Linked DNA regions of Homo sapiens: regions 1, 2 and 3 are each linked to region 4. The links are contacts of gene promoters, found by promoter capture Hi-C in blood cells and fetal thymus (Javierre and others, 2016). All regions are on one chromosome and are shown on one strand. The core of a region is centred on a gene start or on the middle of the fragment in contact, and the rest is flanking DNA. Distances in the headings are between cores, read along the strand shown.

Region 1 (2,781 bases), core at 1-2,500, 390 kb before region 4:
TGGTGGCTCACGCCTGTAGTCCCAGCACTTTGAGAGGTCAAGGCCGGCAGATCACTTGAGGCTAGGAGTTCCAGACCAGCCTGGCCAACATGGCGAAACCCCGTCTCCGTTAAAAATACAAAAATTAGCTGGGCATGGTGGTGTGTGCCTGTAATCCCAGCTACTCGGGAGGCTGAGGCAGGAGAATCACTTGAACCCGGGAGGCAGAGGTTGCAGTGAGCTGAGATCGCGCCACTGCACTCCAGCTTGGGTAACAGAGTGAGACTCCATCTGAAGAAACAAACAAAAAACAAAAAACACTCCTCTGAGCCCCTCTCCCTGCTGTGCAGGGTGGGGTGGGGGGCGGGGGGGTGACATTTCCAGAATTGTTCTGAGGACTGCATGAGGGAGGCGTGATGCAGGGGGGAAACAAGCCTGGCTTCACCTGTCTGTGCCTCAGTTAGTTCATCTGTAAAATGGAATGCTAGTGCTACCCCCGCTCGGCATGTCGTGAGGATAGAATGAGGTCATCCATGTAAAGCTTGGCTCCTTGTAAGACACAGAACAACAGCATTGCTTAGTGGGCTCTGTAAAATGTGGTGGGCAAGCCTCTCTACGTCTCAAACTGGTGGCCCAGAGGCCAAGTCCACCCCTAGAAGTAGAGTTTGTTTTGTTTTGTTTTGAGGGCTTCTGCAATCCCGCCCACTGCCCACTTCCCACATGTATCTCACCCACCTGCCCCAGAAGCCTGAGACTCTGAATCTTGGCTCAAGTCCCAAGTCCCTTGCAGCCCTGGCATTCTGGCCTCAGGCTGGGGGCCAGGTGGGACTGGGTAGGTTTTCATGGGTTCTCAGGAAGAAGGGCGTATCTGATCTGCACGCTGAATGGGCAGGGCCTTGGGCCCCTCCAGCGAGACTGTGCAGAACATGGTTTCTCCGTCAGCTTAACTTTGCTGCCGGGAGGCAGGAAGGCAGTTCCTTAACTAGAGTCTTCCAGCCCCTTTTGCTGTGTCCATGGGTTTTCAGTAATGTTGTCCCCCTTTCTCACTCCCACCTTGCAGGCCACCGGAGCCGCCAGCTGTTTGGAACTGAGCTACTGCAGAAAGGGAAGTGGAGAGTAAGGGCCAGGCCCCGTGGGGGCAGATGGCCGGCAGAAGGCTGAATCTGCGCTGGGCACTGAGTGTGCTTTGTGTGCTGCTAATGGCGGAGACAGTGTCTGGGACTAGGGGCTCGTCTACAGGAGCTCACATTAGCCCCCAGTTTCCAGCTTCAGGTGTGAACCAGACCCCCGTGGTAGACGTGAGTATCCCGGTAGGAACCTGGGGTTGAGTGGGGCTGTGTTCCTCCAATCGATAAATATCTATTGAGCATCTACTATGTGCCAGGCACTGACCGCAGCCTGGGATATACCGGGGAACAATAGAGACAAAATTCACTACTCTCAAGAAGCTGACAGTCTCCTGAACAGACAGATCAAGAAGTAAACTTATACACTTTGGGAGGCCAAGGCAGGAGGATCACTTGAGGCCAGGAGCTGGAGACCAGCCTGGCCATCGTGTCAAAACCCCGTATCTACTAAAAATACAAAAATTAGCTGGGCATGGTGGCAGGTGCCTGTAATCATCAGAACCCTGAGGCAGGAGAATTGCTTGAAACCGTGAGGTGGATGTTGCAGTGAGCCAGGATTGTACCACTGCACTCCAGCCTGGGCGGCGAAGCAAGACTCTGTCTCAACAACAAAAAAAAGAGAAGTAAGCATATACATTTCAGGTGGCGATGTGCTAAGTGCCCCGCACACAATAGCTAAAGTGGTATGGGGGAGGGCGTGAGCTTTTCCAACTATTTCAGATTGGGTGGTCACAGATGGCTTCTGTGAGGGGGTGATATTTGAGGCAAGCCAGCGAATGGAGAGAGGAAACCACCTACATTGACACCCCGGGGAAGAGCATTCTGGGCAAAGGGAACAGCAAGTACAAAGATTCTGGAGCAGGAACAAGCTTAGTGTGTTCCCGTAACAGCAGGGAGGCTAGAATGGATGGAACAGAGCAAGTGAGGGGAAGAATGCTAAGAGAGGAGGATGGAGAGGTAATGGCGGGCAGATTACAAAAGGCCTTACAGGCTGCGGCTAGGAGGTGAGAATTGTTTTGCGATAGTGGGGAGCCAATGGAAGGTTTTAAGCAGAGGGTCCCAAAATCTGTGTTAGTCGGAGTTCTCTAGTGGGACAGAACTAATAGGATAGATGTATATGTAAAGGGGAGTTTTTAAAGGAATATTGACTCACATGATCACAGGTGAGGTCCCGCAATAGGTCATCTGCAAGCTGAAGAGCGAGGAGGTCAGTCTGAGTCCCAAAACCTCAAAAGCAGGGAAGCTGACAGTGCAGCCTTTAGTCTGTGGCTGAAGGTCCAAGAGTCCCAAAGCTGAAGAACTTGGAGTCTGATGTTTGAGGGCAGGAAGCATCCAGCATGGGAGAAAGATGCAGGCCAGAAGACCAAGCCAGTCTAGTCTTTCCACATTCTTCTGCCTGCTTTTATTCTGGCTGTGCTGGTAGCTGATTAGATTGCACCCACCCAGATTGAGGGTGGGTCTGCTTTTCCCAGTCCACTGACTCAATTTTTTTTTTTTTTTTTTTTTTCGAGAACAGTCTCACTCTATACCCAGGCTGGAGTGCAATGGCACGATCTCAGCTCACTGCAACCTCCACCTCCCGGGTTCAAGCGATTCTTATGCACAGCCTCCCGAGTAGTTGGGATTACAGGTGCACACCACCACACCTGGCTAATTTTTTTGTATTTTTAGTAGA
Region 2 (2,960 bases), core at 55-2,554, 480 kb after region 4:
TGTAGCAATCAGGAAAATGTGACTGATATGTGTTAATATTAAGGAAATACTGTTAATAGTTTTAGATATGATAATGCTATTCAGGTTATAATTTTTTGAAATAAAATAGTTACAGACGAAATGATGTGTTAAGATTTGCTTCAAGGCCGGGAGCAGTGGCTCACACCTACAATCCCAGCACTTTCGGAGGCCAAGTCAGGCGGATCACCTGAGGTCAGGAGTTTGAGACCAGCGTGGCCAACATAGTGAAAACCCTGTCCCTACTAAAAATACAAAAATTAGCTGGGCATGGTGGTACACACCTGTAATCCCAGTTACTCAGGAGGCTGAGGCACAAGAATCACTTGAACCCAGGAGGCGGAGGTTGTAGTGAGCCAAGATCAAGCCACAGCACTCCAGCTTGGGGGACAGAGTGAGACTCCATCTCAAAAACAAAAAACAAAACAAAACAAAACTCTATCTCAAAAAAAAAAAAAAAGTATTTGCTTCAAGACAAGTCAGGGCTGGGGAAGTGAGTGGGGCAGAGTCGAAAAAGATTGGCCATATTATCAACAGTTGTTAATGCTGGGTGTCAGGTATACTGCTATAACTATCCCATTCTCTCTACTTTTGCATATAATAGAAATTTTCCACACTAAAAAGTTTTGGAACAATCGGCTTTCCATTCAATTTTGATGAGCGGTTTCTAAAACTTCTGTATCTTCCCATCTTACCTCATGAGGCTTTATGAAGGTGAAATGAAGTGAAAGTAATGAAATGAATGACTGCTGAAATGCTGCCTTTTATTATTTAGGCAGGCAGGGGACAAGGAAGGCAACAGTGAGGCTGAGATTTCAAAATTCTGTCTCACTATGTTTATCATCAATTTTTTTTTTTTTTGGGACAGGTTCTGGCTCTGTTGCTCAGGCTGGAGAGCAGTGACGTGATCTCAGCTCACTGCAGCCTCAATCTCCCAGGCTCGAGCAATCCTCCCACCTCAACCCCCAGAGTAGCTGGGACTGTGGGTGCGCACCCCCACACCCAGCTACTTTTTGTATTTTTTGTAGAGACGGGGTTTTACCATGTTGCCCAGCCTGGTCTCAAACTCCTGGAATCAAGTGAGCTGCCTGCCTCACCCTCTAAAAGTGCTGAGATTACAGGAGTAGCCACTACGCCCCAGCCTATCATCACTTTTTCACTGATGCTTTTCATCACTGTTTTCCTTCTCTCAACTAAAAGCTCCCTTTAAAGGCAGTAACCCTGTCTGTCTTGTTCACTAGTGTCTTCAGAGCCTAACGCGAAGCCTGGGATGAGAGAATAAACTCAAATTCAAGTCTCTGTTCAGTAATGTTGAGCAAGGACTGAGAATGTTCTATTCCACACTCCTCCCCACTGCTGGAATTCAATCAATATCTGTGGTATGGGCCGGGCACAGTGGCTCACACCTGTAATCCCAACACTTTGAGAGGCCAAGACAGGAGAATTGTTTGAGCTCAGAAGTTCAAGACCAACCTGAGTAACACAGTGAGACCCCATATCTACAAAAAATGAAAAATTAGCCGGCTATGGTGGTGCACACCTGTAGTACCAGCTACTCAGGAGGCTGAGGTGGGAGGATGGCGTGAGCCCAGAAGTTGGACGCTGCAGTGAGCTATGATTGCACCACTGTACTCCAGTATGGCAGCAAAGTGAGACTCTGTCTCAGGAGGAAAAAAAACAAAACAAAACAAAACAAAAACTGTGGTATGAAGATTGAATAATTTACTTAACCTCCCTTAGGCCCCTCAGCTGGAAAATGGGAAATCATATCTATCTCAGCAAGTTGTTCAGACATACTCTGGCTAAAAGGACTTTATTTGCCCAGTATTCACTTATTCATTCAATCCACAAATATTTATAAATTGTAGTCCTCAAAAAGCATAGAATAATCATTCCCATAAAACAGAACAGGAAAATAAAATGATGTAAACATGAGTTAAATGTAAATCTCATTCAACAAACATTTATGGAGTTTCTTCTGTGTACTAGGCACCGTGCTACATGCTGGGGACAACTGCAAAGGTAAATATGCCAGAATCCTTGTTTTTGAAGTTTTCTGTCAAATGGATGAGGAGAAAATGAAAGAGATCACATTGTCAATGGGTAAGTGATATAGAAGAGTGCAATGGGAACACAGCACATTCCCATCAGGGACATTCTCCAACCCAAGTTAGTTTCAGGAAAGAGATCAGTTCACTTAAAGTCAGGAAACAACAGATGCTGGAGAAGATGTGGAGAAATAGGAATGCTTTTACACTGTTGGTGGGAGTGTAAATTAGTTGAACCATTGTGGAAGACAGTGTGGTGACTCCTCAAGGATCTAGAACCAGAAATACCATTTGACCCAGCAATCCCATTACTGGGTATATACCCAAAGGATTATAAAACATTCTACTATAAAGACATATGCACACATATGTTTATTGCAGCACTATTTACAATAGCAAAGACTTGGAACCAACCCAAATGCCCATCAATGATAGACCGGATAAAGAAAATGTGGCACATACACACCATGGAATACTATGCAGCCATAAAAAAAGAATGAGTTCATGTCCTTTGCAGGGTCATGGATGAAGCTGGAAACCATCATTCTCAGCAAACTAACACAGGAACAGAAAACCAAACAATGAGAACACATGGACACAGGGAGGGGAACATCACACACACTGTCTGGGGATGGGGGCAAACTCCTGGATTCAAGTGGTCCACCTGCCTCACCCTCTCAAAGTGCTGAGATTACAGGAGTGAGCCACCACGCCCAGCCTATCATCACTTTTTCACTGATGCATTAAAGGGGAGGGAGAGCATTAGGACAAACACCTAATGCATGCAGGACTTAAAACCTAAATGATGGGTTAATGTGTGCAGCAAACCATGATGGCACATGTATACCTATGTACAAACCTGCACGTTCTGCACATATATCCCAGAACTTAAAG
Region 3 (2,976 bases), core at 103-2,602, 300 kb before region 4:
TGATCACATGTGAATGAGTCTCCTTGTCACCCTCCAGTGGCTCCAGGGGCTGGTTTAGCTGTGACAGTCACCTGGGACCCTGGATGTTTTTGGAAACCGGTGACTCACTCCCAGATATGCAACTTCTATTATGTCTATTATTGTGCCCAGAATATGTGTAGAAGAGACATGATCCCTGCCTTTGCAAAACTTGTACTACCAGAAAGAGGCACAGCTGTGTAAAACATCAGCACCTAAAACAACAGCCATTAACACCCAGGCATTACACTGGGTTAGGCCTCTACCTTCCTGCCCTGCCCTGCCCAGTCATCTCAAACAGGCATCAGGGAGACACAAGAAAGAAACTCACAAACCAGGTAAGCCCTAGCTGGGGGGAGCAGGATTCACAAAACCCTGCTTGATGCTGGATGAACAGAATGGGTATTATTCATACTACGAAAGGATTCTTTGCCAAACTTAGCCCTCCCACCTATATTTTATTTTGAAATATATATGTATATATGTATTTCTAGAGACAGGGTCTTACTCTATGCCCAGGCTCGAGTGCAGTAGTGTGATCATGGCTCACTGCAGTCTCAGACTCCTGGGCTCAAGCAATCCTCATGCCTCAGCCTCTCAAGGAGCTGAGACTACAGGTGTGCACCACCACACCTGGCTAACTTTTTTTAACTTCTTTTTAGAAATGGGGTCTCACTATGTTGTCCAAGCTGGTCTCAAATTCCTGGCCTCAAGTGATCCTCTCGCCTTGGTCTCCCAAAGTGCTAAGATTACAGGGTGAACCACTGCGCCTGGCTCCCACCCGTATTTTAAATTACCTAATTCATCAAAACTCCATTTTCTCACAATCCATCATGGCACAAAGCAAACTCTGATTCAATCATCAAATCGATCACATCCCGGTGCTGGGGAGCGAGTGGGTCTCTGTGCCGTGAAGAGCAGAGAAAGAGGTATAAACAGCATACCTGGAGAATGAGAGACTGTGGAAACACAACCACTATCCTCAAAGGTTAGGGAAGGCTCTCAAGGCCTTCAGCTAAATAAACAGGAAGGGCCAGGAGTGGTGGCTCATGCCTGTAATCTCAGCACTTTGGGAGGCCGAGGCAGGTGGATAGCAAGAGATAGCAAGAATGGCTCTGGGGAAGACTTGGTCATTTAAGGTAGCAAAAAGGACACTCTAATATACAGCTACTGGATTGTTGCCAGGCCAAGGAGCAGGGGTCACACCCACGTGGCACTCACAGGACATATCTGCAAGTCTTCCAAATGCTGCTGAAGCAGGAAGCCACCAAAACTAGGACCCCTAAATCATGTTTTTTAAGGAAAAAAAATAAGCGGCACTGCTGCTGCAGTAACATGATGCTCTCTGCTTGCTTCTACAGCTAAAATATGTGGGCAAAGAGATCAGAATATTTTTAATAATTTGTCATCCAAATACCCAAGCTGTATTCCAAGATGCCAATTCCTCAATACCGGAAGTGTGGCTATGAGGATAGGTTTCTCCACTAAGTGGGAAAGGCAGAACATCAGGGCTTTATCGTGAAGGAGGATGATAAAATGAGAGGTAGGCTGCCATCTGAACAGACTAAGAACTTCCTGATCAACCCAAGATGGGTTGTTCAGGGGACTGTGTCAGTGCACTGGAACAAAGCAGGAACTTATCTGCCGGAAACAGAAGCCACACTTTTTATTCAGGAGAGTGGCCCTGGAACTTCAACGTACTTTCTGATCCTAAGAGCTGGGTGTGGTGGGATTAGGGAGGGCAAAGTGGGAGATATGTGGCAGGGCTGGGCACAGTCAAACATCTTCCTCCCATCAGCTCTGCTTTTCTTTCACTAGCTGCTTCCTCCATGCCCAATACCGCTGGGATGTTTCTCATCAAAGAGCACCCTCCTGGGCCAGACCCCAGGCCAGGTGAGCCTATGAAAGTCCTCATCTGTTCAGCATTGTCCAGATGCTTCCTGAGTGCCTCTTAAGAAGTAGGGACTGGCCAGGCATGGTGGCTCACGCCTGTAATCCCAGCACCTTGGGAGGCCGAGGTGGGCAGATCACTTGAGGTCAGGAGTTTGAGACCAGCCTGGCCAATGTGGTGAAACCCCGTCTCTACTAAAAATACAAAAAAATTAACAGGGTGCGGTGGTGCACACCTGTAATCCCAGCTACTGGGGAGGCTGGGGCACTAGAATTGCTTGAACCCGGAAGGCGGAGGTTGCAGTGAGCCGAGACTGTGCCACTGCACTGCAGCCTGGGCAACAGAGCAAGACTCTAACTCAAGAAAAAAAAAAAAGAAGTAGGAACTGAGCTACTGAGCTGAGCTTCTGGGACCTGGGGAAGTTCAGTGACTGGTCAGGGAGACAGACACAGAGAGAAAAATGCCAAATCCGGCTCCTACTACTGCAGAATAGCCTGGCAGTTTCCTCTCCATCCACCTCTCAATCTCCAGAGGGAAAAGTAACCCCTATTCAGGGCTGACCCACCCCAGGGTTTCTAAGCTCAGGGCTTATCAAGTTGGCTAGAGACAGCATCCCGAGCTGGCAAGATGTCAGCAGGAAGATGCTCTGTCATCACTTGCTTTCTGGCCCAAACACATTTAGCAGCTCCCATGCCCAACTCAACCAGGTCCAAACTCCTGCCATCAGCATTTTAGGCACTCTGTAAAACAGATATGCCTGCTCTGACCCCTGACCCTAATTATAATGGCTGACATCCACCCAATGCTCATTCTGTATAAGCCAGGCACTGTGCTAGTTGTGTGAGGCATGCTATCTTGTATAAACCTCAGAACAGTCCTAAAAGGTAATACTAATATTAGTGTCATTTTACGGATGAGGAAATCAAAGCTTAGAGAGGTTACATCATCTGCCCAAAGTCCCAGCAGGAGAAGTCAGGGCTGGATTCAAACTCAGTGGGTCTGACCCCAGAGTGCATGTAACCACACCCAAATCCAATCTGCCCCCAGCATGCTAGTCTCTGGCCCCG
Region 4 (2,940 bases), core at 210-2,709:
CTCCTCCTTCCCCACCTCCCAAGCTGAGAGTCAGCCCCAGGAAACCACTAGGTGCTCTGAGGCCATTTCTACTCTGCGTTTTCACTCCCTCTCCTGACAACCTCCTCTAGCACACCCAGGTTCCCTCCATCAATCCACTCCTGGCACCCCCAAATCTACCCTGAGGATAAGGTAGCTCATGACTTGTCTCCTCCCTGAATCTGCGAGTGTCCTGGGATCACAGTGGCAGTGTGGCTGTATTTAAGTGACAAAAAGTGACCCGGAGCCTGGGCAACATGGTGAAATCCCGTCTCTACAAAAAATGCAAAAATTACCTGGGCATGGTGGCTCACACCTGTAATCCCAGCACTTTGAAAGGCCAAGGCAAGTGGATCACTTGAGCCCAGGAGTTCCAGGCCAGCCTGGGCAACACGGCAAAACTCTATCTCTACAAAAAATGCAAATAATTAGCCAGGCATGGTAGTGTGCACCTGTAGTGCCAGCTACTTGGGAGGCTGAGGTGTGAGAATAACTTGAGCCCAGGAGGCGGAGGTTGCTGTGAGCCAAGATCATGCTACTGCACTCCAGCCTGGGTGACAGAGCGAGACCCTGTCTCAAAAAAAAAAAAAAAAAAAAAAAAAAAAAAAGATGTGACTCAGAGTAGTAATTTAGCGTCTAGCCTCAGTTTCCCTATCCATAAAACAGGTACAATAATACCTGCCTCACTGAACGTGGGGATGAAATGAGGTAATACTCATTTAATGAGATAATTTTCATTGTTATTTGATAATGTCTCAATAAATTGGGCTACTCTGGCTGTTACGCGGAGTGTTATTACTTCTGTAACCTTAAGGTCTGGCATAGTGTGAGGCCCACAGTCTGTTTGAATGACTGGGAGAATGAGTGAATGAGTGAATGAATGGATAAGAAGCAGCCTCTGAGAGTAGAGATGCAGGAATCAGGCTACTTGGATTTGAATCCTGGCTGGGCCTCTTACAGGATCGGACACGTCACTGTACCTCTCTGTGCCTCATTTTCTCTATCTGTCAAGCGGGCTTAAGAGTACCTACCTGGCTCGTATGTTCGGGGGAGTTAGCACGGGGCTGGCACATTGGAAGTATTTGTTAAAGAAATGAATGAGGTGCACAAGCGGATAAAGCCACCCCCACCGTAAGCCTATGTGAGGCTTAAGCGTCCTCCCAGGACTCCCCTTTGGACACATAAAGACCCCGAGGTGGGACCTCACCTTGACAGTTTTCAGCACCCGCGGGGCAGCAGCACCGAGGCGGCCCCCGCGCTCCCTCAGGGCAGCGGCCAGGGCGCCCAGAGCGCGCCGCGCCTTCTCTACGAACTCCTTCCGCGGCTGCAGCCTTCTGGCCACGAACCTGTCCAGCGCAGCGGCCGGGGTGCTGTACAAGTCCATGGCCGCCCGGCGCAGGTGCAAGGGGAAGCAGGGCTCTGGCGCGGCCTTCGGATTTCTGGTTTCGTTTTCCCGCCCGGCTCTCCGAACCACGCCCAGCTGGCCAGGTCCTAGGTCCTCGGTCCCGCGCGTGGCGTGAAACGGGGAGGGGCGCTGCAGTTCCTGTCTTCCCCAAACTTGGGAAATTCCCTGCTTTCAGTTTCGTTTCTTTCTAGCAGCTCTTGGACCTGACACCCACTTCCTGGTCCCCTTCCCAGCTACGACTTCCTCTCCTTCATCTCCTTGCTTCCAGCCGTCCCTGCAACCACCAGCTCCAACGAACTAATCACAACCTAACAAAGTATACCCACAGAACATATGGGTACATACTGAGTAACGTACTCTGAGCATTTCAGAAACGTGCAGGTTTTACATGGAAAAAAAAGGTCAGGATTTAATAAACGGAGAAGTCCTACCTCGCTGTCTGACTGAGGGATGCGTTCTAAACACCACTACCACCACCAACGATAATAAAGCACACTTGGAGACTCTCACTGACTCCTCCCAACGACCATGGTGTAGGTGCTATTATCATCACCCATTTGACAGATGAGGAAGTCAAGGTACAGAGGAACTAGGTAACTGTCCAAGGTAACACAGCTGGAAAGTTGTCTGGCTGGATTCAAACCCAGCCCAAGCCCACAGAGCTGCCCTCTTCAGAAGCCAACTCTTCCTAAATAATTTATACGTGTAATGCAGTTCCAATAAAAATTCCATCTTTAAAAACTTCAAACACACGATCTAAAGTCTGTCTGCAAGAATTAAAAATTATTTTGGAGGAGAAGGAGGAAGGAAAGTCAGTCAGTTTAGGATGGTACCTTGCACAACAATACTACATATTAAAACATTGTAAAGCTACAATAGGGAAATCCTCTTGGAATGGGCACAAAGCTAAGCGGACTGTAAGCTATAAGCTGCAGAGTGGAGATTTGAATCCAGGACCATTGCGCTTCTATCTTCATGGCCTGTCTCCTTTTTCTGCTTATTTCCTGCTGCTTCTCCACCCGGGTTCCTAGAGACTGCACACCTGAGCTCTCTTCCAGGCCTGGTCCAAGCCATAGCCTATCTCCTCCTCCCCATCTTACTAAAAAACTCCCAGGTCCTCTCTCCTGTCTGCTCCGGGACCCAGCATTTACTCTGCCTCTGAGTACACTTCAGGTAATAGTCTTAACAAGTGCTTCCTGACATCTGCACGGTAACTGAAAGGAAATAGATAGGATCAGAGTGTGAATTTCAGAGGTCATGGTCAACTAGAGGGAGAGATGCTGGGTCTGTAATATGTACACCAGCTAATATTTTGAGTAGTGAATGCTGCATCACTTGGAATATTCAAGTATGGGCAGGTTTTGTAGGTCAGGTGTTGTGGTGGGGATTTAAGTCAAGGGATTGAGCAATGATTTTCATTCTCGCCCATTAATCACAGTCTTCTTCCTGAGTCACAGGCCACTTTAGAAACTTTCCATTCAAGATAGTGGATTGAACACATGCTCAAAATTCTATTA

The links. Contacts are between HindIII fragments. The CHiCAGO score rates a contact against its expected background, and 5 or more counts as called.
Region 1: a fragment that was not itself captured here is called in contact with the fragment with the promoter of OAS3 in region 4 in 1 of 17 cell types (naive CD4 T cells); the score reaches 5.3 in naive CD4 T cells.
Region 2: a fragment that was not itself captured here is called in contact with the fragment with the promoter of OAS3 in region 4 in 1 of 17 cell types (M1 macrophages); the score reaches 5.0 in M1 macrophages.
Region 3: a contact is called between a fragment that was not itself captured here and the fragment with the promoter of OAS3 in region 4, in 2 of 17 cell types (naive B cells and activated CD4 T cells). The highest score is 5.3, in naive B cells.

Annotation. Positions count from the first base shown.
Region 1 is chr12:113,331,219-113,333,999 of GRCh38, reverse strand. SLC8B1 (solute carrier family 8 member B1) reads left to right here. Exons shown (of 16, transcript NM_001358345.2): 2 at 1,040-1,277. The coding sequence starts at 1,122. Among named protein-coding and RNA genes, the nearest start is that of SLC8B1, 2.5 kb to the left of the region's middle. The HindIII fragment of the contact is 1,455 bases long and covers 523-1,977 here.
Region 2 is chr12:112,456,952-112,459,911 of GRCh38, reverse strand. The region is part of intron 6 of PTPN11 (protein tyrosine phosphatase non-receptor type 11); the gene reads right to left. It overlaps LOC124903023 (a long non-coding RNA gene), which reads left to right. Exons shown (of 3, transcript XR_007063466.1): 3 at 2,008-2,162. Among named protein-coding and RNA genes, the nearest start is that of PTPN11, 39 kb to the right of the region's middle. The HindIII fragment of the contact is 3,793 bases long and covers 1-2,960 here.
Region 3 is chr12:113,236,668-113,239,643 of GRCh38, reverse strand. All of the region lies in intron 2 of TPCN1 (two pore segment channel 1), which reads right to left. Among named protein-coding and RNA genes, the nearest start is that of TPCN1, 17 kb to the right of the region's middle. The HindIII fragment of the contact is 2,975 bases long and covers 1-2,839 here.
Region 4 is chr12:112,936,993-112,939,932 of GRCh38, reverse strand. OAS3 (2'-5'-oligoadenylate synthetase 3) reads right to left here and starts at 1,459. Exons shown (of 16, transcript NM_006187.4): 1 at 1,226-1,459. The coding sequence starts at 1,402. RefSeq lists enhancers at 741-910, 1,334-1,503, 1,467-1,776, 1,671-1,840 and a silencer at 1,157-1,246. The HindIII fragment of the contact is 11,275 bases long and covers 1-2,940 here.